2 separate regions of the Homo sapiens genome follow, and region 1 is linked to region 2. The links are contacts of gene promoters, found by promoter capture Hi-C in blood cells and fetal thymus (Javierre and others, 2016). All regions are on one chromosome and are shown on one strand. Each heading gives the region's core, a stretch centred on a gene start or on the middle of the fragment in contact. The rest is flanking DNA. Distances are from core to core; before and after follow the strand shown. Region 1 has its middle 42 kb from the start of MC2R. Region 2 holds the start of MC2R (melanocortin 2 receptor).

Evidence for each region. Contacts are between HindIII fragments. The CHiCAGO score rates a contact against its expected background, and 5 or more counts as called.
Region 1: a fragment that was not itself captured here is called in contact with the fragment with the promoter of MC2R in region 2 in 1 of 17 cell types (neutrophils); the score reaches 7.8 in neutrophils.

The regions. Positions count from the first base shown.
Region 1 is chr18:13,954,819-13,959,879 of GRCh38, reverse strand. No RefSeq gene overlaps it. Among named protein-coding and RNA genes, the nearest start is that of MC2R, 42 kb to the right of the region's middle. The HindIII fragment of the contact is 3,230 bases long and covers 1,478-4,707 here.
Region 2 is chr18:13,913,239-13,918,470 of GRCh38, reverse strand. It overlaps MC2R (melanocortin 2 receptor), which reads left to right and starts at 2,935. Exons shown (of 2, transcript NM_000529.2): 1 at 2,935-2,983. The HindIII fragment of the contact is 17,945 bases long and covers 1-5,232 here.

The DNA.
Region 1 (5,061 bases), core at 1,843-4,342, 41 kb before region 2:
GTGTATACATATGATAGAATTTTATTTAGCCATAAAAAGGAATAAACTCTTTTTTGTAGGATAGTTTTGTTGCATATAAAATTCTTGGTTGAAATGTTTTTTTCATTTACCAATTTGAATATGGTTTACCAATGTTTTGGGACTCTGTTATTCCTACTATACACTATTATACATGGTTGAATATGAATAAGCTGACAGAATTTATGCTAACTGAAAGCAACCAAACACAAAAGGTCACAAGTCTTGATTTCAGCCCTGGCTAGGGGATTTCTTCTTTGGATATTCTATCTCAACCTTAGAAGTAGTGGCTGCTCCTTATATTACTTTACTTCTTACTCATCAATACCCTGTTACTCCAATCCTTTGTGATAGTTAATAACTCTTAATATTAAACTTTCTCTTCTCAAATTACTGTATAGATTCTGTCTCATGATTTGACCCTAGGTGATACACCTATTAATATTATTTGTAATGAGAAGTCAACAATTTAATGTACCTTTTTCGCCTCTTAAGTGATATGTCATTTTTCTCTCAGTGCATTTAGTATCTCTTTTTTTTATCTGTTATCTTTATCTTTTTATCTTTCAGCAATTTGACTAAAGGTTGTAATTTTTCTTTTGTTCATTTAAAAAAATTCCTTAATATGGAAATGCTACATAAAGACCTTCATGCCTAAGAGAACAGGTCTGCTAAAAACAATTTATTTGTTTTTGGTTATCTGAAAATGCCTTTCTTTTGCCCCTCCTTTTTTTGTGGGATAGTTTTGTTGGATATAAAATTCTTAGTCAAAAGATTTTTTTTCATGTACTAATTTGAATATGACTTTCCAATGTTTTGGGACTCTATTAATATTATTTCTAATGAGAAGTCAGCAATTTAATGTATCTTTTTTGTCTCTTATGTGATGTGTCATGATTTTCTCAGTGCATTTAGTATCTCTTTTTATCTTTTATCTTTATCCTTTTTCAGCAATTTGACTAAAAGTTGTAATTTTTCTCTTGTTTATTTCACTTGAGATTTGTTGAACTTCTTGGAATTGTAACTCAAAATTTTTTGCCAAACTTAAGACATTTTTAGCCACTATTTCTCCACATATTTTTTATCCTATTTTCTCTGCCCCCTTCCTTTTGGATCATCAATTACATGGATGTTGGGATGACTGACATTGTCCCACAGGTCTCTGAGGCTCTATCCACTTTTCTCACTGTTCTTTAGATTGGGTAATTTCTATTAATATAGCTTCATGTTATGAGCTTTTTCTTCTGCCATACCAAATCTACTTTGAGGTCATTTTAGTAAATTTGTCATTTATTTTACTTTTTAGCTCTAGATTTTCTATTTAATTTCATGTCATAGTTCCTGTACCACTCTGGATGTTCCATATTTGTTCACTTACTATTAGTATATTTCCCTTTAATCCATTGAACATATTTCTCCTTAACTTTTTTGGATATTTATAATAGCTATGTTGAAAGCTTTATCTACTACCTCCAACTTTTGCACTCAATTAGGGTTGGTTATTAGTGGGTGCTTTTTTCACCTCTGTAATTGTTACACTTTTCTCATTCATTAAAAACCTAGTAATTCTAGTTGAAAATTGGATATTGTATATAATTTGTTGTAGAGGCTCTCAATTCTTAATAGTCTCTAATAAGTCCAGTTATATCAGCACTGTTTATTTATTTATTGAATAGGAAGTTCTTTCCCCATCACTCATTTTTGTCCACTTTGTTGAAGAGCAGATTATTATTGGCGTGTACCTTTCTTTCTGAGTCCTCTATTCTGTTCCATTGGTATATGTGTCTGTTTTTGTACCACTACCATGCTGTTTTGGTTACTGTAGCCTTGTAGAATAGTTTGATGTTAGGTAACATGATGCCTCGGGGGCTTTGTCCTTTTTGCTTAGGATTGCTTTGGCTACTTGGGCTCTTCTTTTGGTTCCATATAAATTTTAGAATTTTATTTTTAAATTTGTGAAAAGCATCATTGGTAGTTTGACAGGAATAGCATTGAATCTGTAAATTGCTTTAGGTAGTATGGCCATTTTAACTATATTGATTCTCCCTATCCGTGAGCATGGAATGTTTTTCCATTTGTCTGTGTTATCTCTGATTTCCTTCAACAGTGTTTTGTAATTCTTATTGTAGAGATCTTTCACCTCCCAGGTTAGCTGTATTCCTAGGTTTTTTTGTTCTTTTTGTGGCTATTGTGAATGGTATTGCATTCTTGATTTGGCTCTCAGCTTCGATGCTGTTAACGTACAGAAATGCTACTGAATTTTTGCATTGATTTTGTTTTGATTTTGTATCCTGAAACTTTAATTGTTTATCAGATCTGGGAGCTTTTGGGCAGAGATTATGAGGTTTTCTAGATATAGAATTACATCATCTGGAAACAGAGATAATTTGACTTCCTCTTTTCCTATTTGGATGCCTTTTTTTTTCTTTCTCTTGCCTGATTGCTCTGGCTAGGACTTCCAGAACTGTGATGAATAGAAGTGGTGAGAATGGGCATCTTTGTCTTGTTCCAGTTCTTAATGGGAACACTTCCAGCTTTACCCATTTAATATGATGTTGGCTGTGGGTTTGTCATAGATGGCTCTTATTATTTTGAGGTATGTTGTTTCAATGCTTAGTTTGTTGAGGGTTTTTAACAGGAAAGGATGTTGAATTTTATTGAAAGCCTTTCTTAGCATCTATTGAGATAATTATGTGGTTTTTAAATTTTAGTTATGCTTGTGTAATGAATCACATTTACTGATTTGTGTACATTGAACCAACTTTGCATCCCAGGGGTAAAGCCTACTTGACTGTGGTGGATTAGCTTTTTGATGTGCTGCTGAATTTTGTTTGCTAGTATTTTGTTGAGAACTTTTGCATCTATGTTCATCAAAGGTATTGGCCTGATGTTTTGTTTTGTTTTGTTTTGTTTTGTTTTGTTTTGTTTTGTTGTGTCTCTGCCAGGTTTTGCTATCAGAATGATGCTGGCCTCATTAATGAGTTAAGGAGGAGTGCCTCCTCCTCAATTTTTTGAAATAGTTTCAGTAGGAATGTTACCAGCTCTTCTTTATATATCTGGTAGAATTTGCCGTGAATCTATCTGGTCCAGTACTTTTTCTGGTTGGTAGGCTTTTTATTACTTAATTATAGAACTTGTTATTGGTCTGTTCAGGATTTCAATTTCTTCCTGGTTTAACCTTGGGAGGTTGTATACTTCCAGGAATTTATACATTTCTTGTAGGTTTCTAGTTCATGAGCATAGAGGTATTTATACCAATCTCTGAGGGTGCTTTGAATTTCTGTGGGGCCAGTGGCAATGTCACCCTTGTCATTTGTGATTATGTTTGGATCTTCTCTCTTTTTTTCTTTATTAATCCAGATAGTGGTCTATCAATATTATTTATTCTTAAAAAAAACTTTTGGTTTGTTGATCTTTTACATAGACTGTCACATCTTAATTTCTTTCAGTTCAGCTCTGATTTTAGTTATTTCTTGTCTTCTGCTAGCTTTGGGGTTGGTTTGCTGTTGTTTTTCTGGTTCCTGTAAGTCTAATGTTAGGTATTTAATTTTAGATGTTCCAACTTTTTGACGTGGAAATTTAGTTAATGCTATAAACTTTCCTTTTAATACTGCTTTGGCTGTGTCCCAGATATTGTGCTTTGTTGTATATTTGTTTTCATTAGTTTCAAAACATTTCTTGATTTCTGCCTTAATCTCATAGTCTACCCAAAAGTCATTCAGGAGCAGGAGGTTTAATTTCCATGTAATTGTATAGTTTTGTGCAATCTTCTTAGTATTGATTTATTTTATTTTATTGTGGTTGGTATAATTTTTTTTAATTTGCTGAAAATTGATTGCTGATTGTGTGGTGGATTTTAGAGTATGTGCCACGTGCAGATGAGAAGAATATATATTCTGTTGTCTTGGGTGGAGAGTTCTGTACATGTCTGTTAGGTCCATTTGGTCAAGTGTCAAGTTCAGGTCTTAAATATCTTTTTTCTGCCTCAATGTTCTACTTCTTTTCTGCCTCAATGATCTAGTACTGTTATCTGCTTCAATGATCTAATACTGTCAGTGGAATGTTGAAGTCTCCCATTATTGTGCAGTTATCTAAGTCTCTTTGTAAGTCTCTAAAAACTTGTTTTATGTATCTGGGTGCTCCTGTGTTACATGCACATATATTTAGGATAGTTAAGTCTACTTGTTGAATTGAATCCTTTATCATTATGTAATGCTCTTCTTTGTGTTTTTGGATTATTGTTGGTTTAAAGTTGTTTTGCTTTTTTATGTTTTCTGTTTGCTTGACAGATTTTCCTCCATCACTTTACTTTGAACCTATGGGTGTCATTTCATGTGAGCTGGGTCTCTTGAAGACAGCATACCACTGGGTCTTGCTTCTTTATCTAACTCGCCACTCTGTGCCTTTTAATGGGCATTTAGCCCATTTACATTTACAGTTAATATTGATATGTGTGGATTTGATCCTGTCATTGTGGTGTTAGCTGCTTATTATGCAAATTTGATTGTGTAGTTGCTTTATGGTGTCAATGGTCTATGCACTTATGTGTGTCTTTGTGGTGACTGATCTTTCATTTCCATATTTAGCACTTTGTTAAGGGTCTCTTGTAAGGCAGGTCTGGGGGGTAATGAATTCTCTTAGCATTTCCTTGCCTGAGAAAGATCTTATTTCTTCTTCAGTTACAAAGCTTAGCTTGACCAGGTGTGAAATTCTTGGTTGGAATTTCTTTTTTTTAAGAATGCTAAATATAGGCCTCTAATCTCATCTGGCGTGTAGGGTTTCTGCTAAAAAGTCTACAACCCTGGCTTTGCTCTCTGGCCTCTCAAGGTTAGTACCAGCTTCATTGGAGGGGCCAAGGTGTTCCCAGTCCACTGACAACAACACTCTGATAGGGGGGTGCCAGCCAAGCACTTCATCAGGGCATTGGCAGTGGGATCCATGCTCACTCATGCATGTCAGCAGCAGCACAATTGGCTGTCTATAGGTTTTTATCCTCTTCTATATAGGCTGTATAAAGGTTGAGAAAGACATCTAAAGTTGCTT
Region 2 (5,232 bases), core at 1,686-4,185:
TAGTCCCAGCTACTTGAGAGGCTGAGGCAGGAGAATTGCTTATACCTGGGAGGCAGAGGTTGCAGTGAGCCAAGATGGTGCCACTGCACTCCAGCCTGGGCAACAGAGGGAGAGCCCATCTCAAACACAAAACAAAACAAAACAAAAGAAAAAGAAAAAGAAAAGGAAATGTGCAAAGAGAGCAGATCTGAAGTGTTCTCACCACACACACAGAAAGGCAACTGCAGGCCGATGGGTATGTTCAGTAGATTGGCTGCAGTCAGCAGTCCACTGTGAGTATACACACAAAACATCATATACACCTTAAATATATACAATATTTATTTAAAATTTAAATGTAAATGTTTCATAAGAGCTTGTCCATGCTTGCTGTCTCCTCTCCTCACTTCCCATTTCCTCCTCAAGCAGCTCCCACCAGGCACCCACCTCTACCACTGTCCCGTCTCCCCTCTGGCCCCTACAACCCGTGGAGAGGATCCTTTAAAGCCTGAATCAGGTCATGTCATCCTAGTCCTGACTCCTCATCGTTCTTACAGGAAAGTCTTAAGTGCTATCATGGCCTCTGTAGAGCCACTGAACTTCTCAGATCCCCATCTATAAATGGGGTCTGTAAGGTGACTTCACACATGTGCTGAGAAGATTAAATGTCGAGATATGTACAGCACTGAGAACATTCATCATGGCTGGCACATAGGAAACCCACTGTGGATTCTTACCATTGCTTCCACTGCAGATTTCAGCAAAGACATTTGTGAGTTACCTTCCAACCCCAGCATTTTCTATGTCAGAATGGGGCAGTCCTGCAAACACAAAAGACAGATCCCCGGCCCTGTCTCTTCTTCCTGTCCCCTTCTGTTTCCCCATTGCATCTCCTTTCCCCTTGCTCTGCCTCCCAAGCCTCCCCCACCCTCTCACTCTTTCTCTCTCTCTGCCTCTTTAGCTTTTCCATGAGAGGGACAAGCACTGGGGAGGAAGTTGTATTTGTGAAAGTGACCGAGTTGTATACGATTGTGTGAGAAGAGAAGAAAGGGTGCATACAGAAGCCCTTTGAATGCTCCCTAAAATTCCCCTTTTCCATCGTATCTCTTGGGATGAGAGAGAGACTGGGCTGGTGACGGAATGGTGGCGCAGTTGTAACATGGTCATCAGAGTTCATCTACCAGCATCTCCACTTACAAGTTTGCTTTCCAATGATCACCAGCTGAATGGGTTTCCCTACAGCAAAGATATTTCTTTTAAAATACCACTATTTCAAGAGTGTTTGGACAGGGTTATAACAAAAACCATAGGTATTGGCATATGGTTTTAGATTTCCCTGAGCACTGTTACAAACCTAGTCTGAATTCTCACAACAGCCCGCTTTACACCAGGCAATGGAGTCCTAGAGGCCTGGCACTCAGAACTCTGACCGCGTGTCTTCTGGTTCTAAACTCTGTCATTTCTACTCTGCTCCTTCCAAGAGATTTTTGCCCCCTTTTCTCTAAAAATTGGAGAGAGATGAGCCCCCAAAATGGAAGAACTAAAATAGCAATAGCTACTCTCTTTGCAGGGCTTAGCCAAACCCCTAGGCAACCTTCCCCCTGCTGGAAGTCTCTCCCTGTCCCTCCCAATCAGAGTGGCCCAGGTCCCACCCAGGGGACTGGCCGAGGCTCGCCTCCTCCAGACAGTGTTCCCATTGTCTGCAGCCTGCCTGATGTCCCACTCCCCAGGGCTGGCCACCGGTTTTCCCAATCAGCTAATCAGATCCACAGATCTCTGACAAAGGGCCTCTGCTTCTGCAAGTACAAGGGCTAAGGACGAGTTGTCTCTACTTTTCCAGATAATACAGTAGCTTTCTGGAGGCAATGCCTTGCTTTTCTCTGTTATCTCAACTACATGACTGAAGAGGGAAAGAGGCCTGTGGAACGCCGGGTTTCAGCTGCAGGGCATGTTGCGGAGGCACACACCTACTCAGAAACAGTCGAAGTCTGGGATGATCCTGGGTCCATGAGTTCCTGGGGACAACACGCTTTGCCTCAGTGACAGGCCAGGAAAAGCCACTTTATAAAATTGTGTTTACCCGCCTGGCAAATTCAACTCAGGTCTCTCTCTTTGGTCTTTTCCAGACCACCCACGTGTGAACACTTTTTAGCTTGGGGCGGAAGCTCACATTTCAGAAACAGCCACTGGTTTGGCCCCAGCCCCAAAAACCCAGGACCATCTGGAAACTTGGCCCAATTCCACACTTCAACATTCCTGTTGCTGTGACTGACACCAACAGTAGCCCTTCCCTGCAGGCCCCGGCAGGCAGAAAACACACAGCATTGCACCCTAAAATGGAAGAATTTTGCTTTGAATGATGGCTCTTATCTATGGCGGTTTCTGTGAAGTTTTTGGACGGAGAAGCATTGGCAGAACACAGGGTTTTTTTCTTGTCTGGACCCATGCGTCATATGTGCACTTGAGCACACAGTTCCCTCACTCTCATTGTTTAGTCTTGTGAAATAGGGATAATGGGGCTATTCCCTTCTTCTTAATGAAACTAATGAGCCAAATATTTGCAAGATATATCAAGAAGTTTGCTAGAAGTTTTAAAACAAATTCTTCCAAAACCATTTTCTCAAAAACCTGATTTATTTAATTCCTTAGTTCTTTTTGGAAATAAATGCAACTCTAAAGTGGCATTTAAAAAGAGCAAGATGACAATTCCATAATCTGCTAGAAACATTGTCATAAACATTGGAAGTAACCTTGACTAGCTGAGCTCATGGAAATTATGTCTTCATCTGCCTGTGTCTTTCCATTTCTCTAACTTCACATTACCAGAAATGCACAGTTCATGTGGGATGACATTTATTCAAGGTAATGATAACAATCTAGCTGTATCTCCGGTGATGCATGTGTTCCGGCCCTTCCCGGCCCAAGGTCCACTTGCTTGCTTTTCTCTCCGAGCTCATTCCTTCTCATTCATTTTGCCCAGAAAGTTCCTGCTTCAGAGCTGAAGGTAAGTACATTTTCCACTAATTCCTCAGCTTGCTAAGTGCTTTTGGACCATGAATAGAGCAGCTAGGAACAAATCTGAGAAGAGGTACTATTCAGAATTCCTCCAAATAGCTCATCTTTTTAATTATGGGCTTTCATCCTTCCTAAGGGAGTTTATTATTTTTCTAATTAAACTACTACAATGAAGGCTATTACCTTTTTGTCTAGCTAAAACAATCTTCCCTATTAATGAATTTATTGGCTTCTCTAGTACTCTTCAAATTGTCATTGAGCTCTATTCAAGGACTACAGCCAGTTTTTTCCTAATAGAATTAGGGGTGAAACAAATCATGCTTCTATTATCACTTCTGGAGTTAGCCCCTTCACCTGATCAGCTTGTCTAGGTGTAAGAGTGCGGGGGTTTTAGCGCCACAAAGACGTGGGCATGCGGCAGCTTCCTGAACCTCAGGCATTGGTGTCTAAGCAACTCCACCATCCACACGTGTGACGTTACAGTTCTGGGAGATGCACGCACACTTTCTGTGCCTTTCTCAACCACTAGCTCAGTCAGCCTCCACCTTCCTAGGCAGCAACACGGGGTGCAGGATAAACAATAACTAAAAGCATACTGATTATCACATACTCCTGCAAAGTGTTTGCACCCAGAAAGCATGCAGTCACTGCCATCATGAGGGGCTCACACCTTCCTTTGGCTGGCTCTGTCGGGGGGCACATGTTACCTAGAAAAGAGGCCCAGGCATTCGATTAAACAGCTCTTCTTCATATTTCAGTTTGTCTAAGCTGCCTTCAGATAACTGTCCCCATTCTTCACTTACACACACACACTCATACACACACATATACACACATACACGTGCACACTTGTAAACATACATACATACATGCATGCAAAAAGTCCAAAAGGGATAGGAATGGGAAAGGGGTACAAAGGGGTCCAGAGAGTACAGCCTTGAGCAGATCAGAAGGAGGAGTGCTCCTCACATGCCCTCCCCACCCCATCCCCGGAGTGGGAGTGAAGCGGTGGTCACAGGCTCTGCTCACACATTCATGCCTAGATCAAGCTGTACCGAACCCTTATGTGCTGGGCCTTGTTGCAAGCCTAAGTCAGAGTGGAGCCTCCTGGAGCCCCGGCGCTGAGGACAGCGCACACTGAGACAACACTTCACACTAGCTCCCAGACAGGACACACACCCACAAAGAGCTGTGGGAGCAGGGAGACGGGAGCCCTCACCCTGCCTTTGGGACACCGCTTAGGCCGCGGCAGGGGTGGAGGAGGGCATGAACCAGGGTAATGGGGTAGATAAGCTCCAAAGCCATCCTGACTTCTCAGTGGATCCTGAATCTCTGGCAGAGGAGGTTTTTGCTCAGCAGCAAATTGCCCTCTCACTGCCTCAGAGCAACTTAAGACATCTTAAAAAAAAAAAAAAATCCTATTCTTTACCTTGTTAATGATCCCAGGTATGTTTCCTATGGAATCCTTAGTGTCTAATACATTTTAATGAGAGCTTTCTTGTCTGTGTAAGCCACATTCCTTGCCTTCATTAGGCAAATATAATTGCTGTGGGCCAGGTTGTCTGCAGGGCTCAGCCTCAGACATGGTCAGGGCAGGTCTTATCCTAAGGAACTCAGATCCATCTGCAGGGTTTTCATGTGAATAATGCCGTTGTAGAAATAAGAACAAACAGCTACAGGTGCATAGACGGGCAGCAATCCTGGGCTCCCTTGGGATGCGGGGGCAGTGGAAGAGAGTCTGTACTTGGGCAAGGACACAGTGCTGAGTGTGAGAAGTGAGGAAGGACGTGTCCAGGCCCAGGGAGAGAGAACGTGTGAACAGACAGGCAAGCGCTGGTGCAGACCCACCCAGTGGGCCTTAAAGTGTGGTGGAGTCCTAAAGTCTTAACTTCTCTGTTCTCTGACTATGAGCCGCCAGGGTACAAAATTTGGAAGATGGTTTTAAAGTAAGTTCTCAACTCAAAATATGCGTGTGCCAAGCGCTGTGCTAGCAGCATGGGTAACGCACAGAGCCTGACTTGGTGGGAGAACAACATGTGCAAACTACAGAGACTAATCAACCTAGTAGGTGTCCCAGCATCAAAACCTGGGGGCAGCAAGCGTTTGTGTGAGCAGCACAGCCGTGGCAGGGAAAGGTCCGAGTGGGTCACACTGGCAGGAAGGCACCGTGGAGGAAGCCTGCCATGAGCAGTGAAGCTCAGAGGACGGGAGATGTGAGCGGGTGGAAGGTGGTGGTCC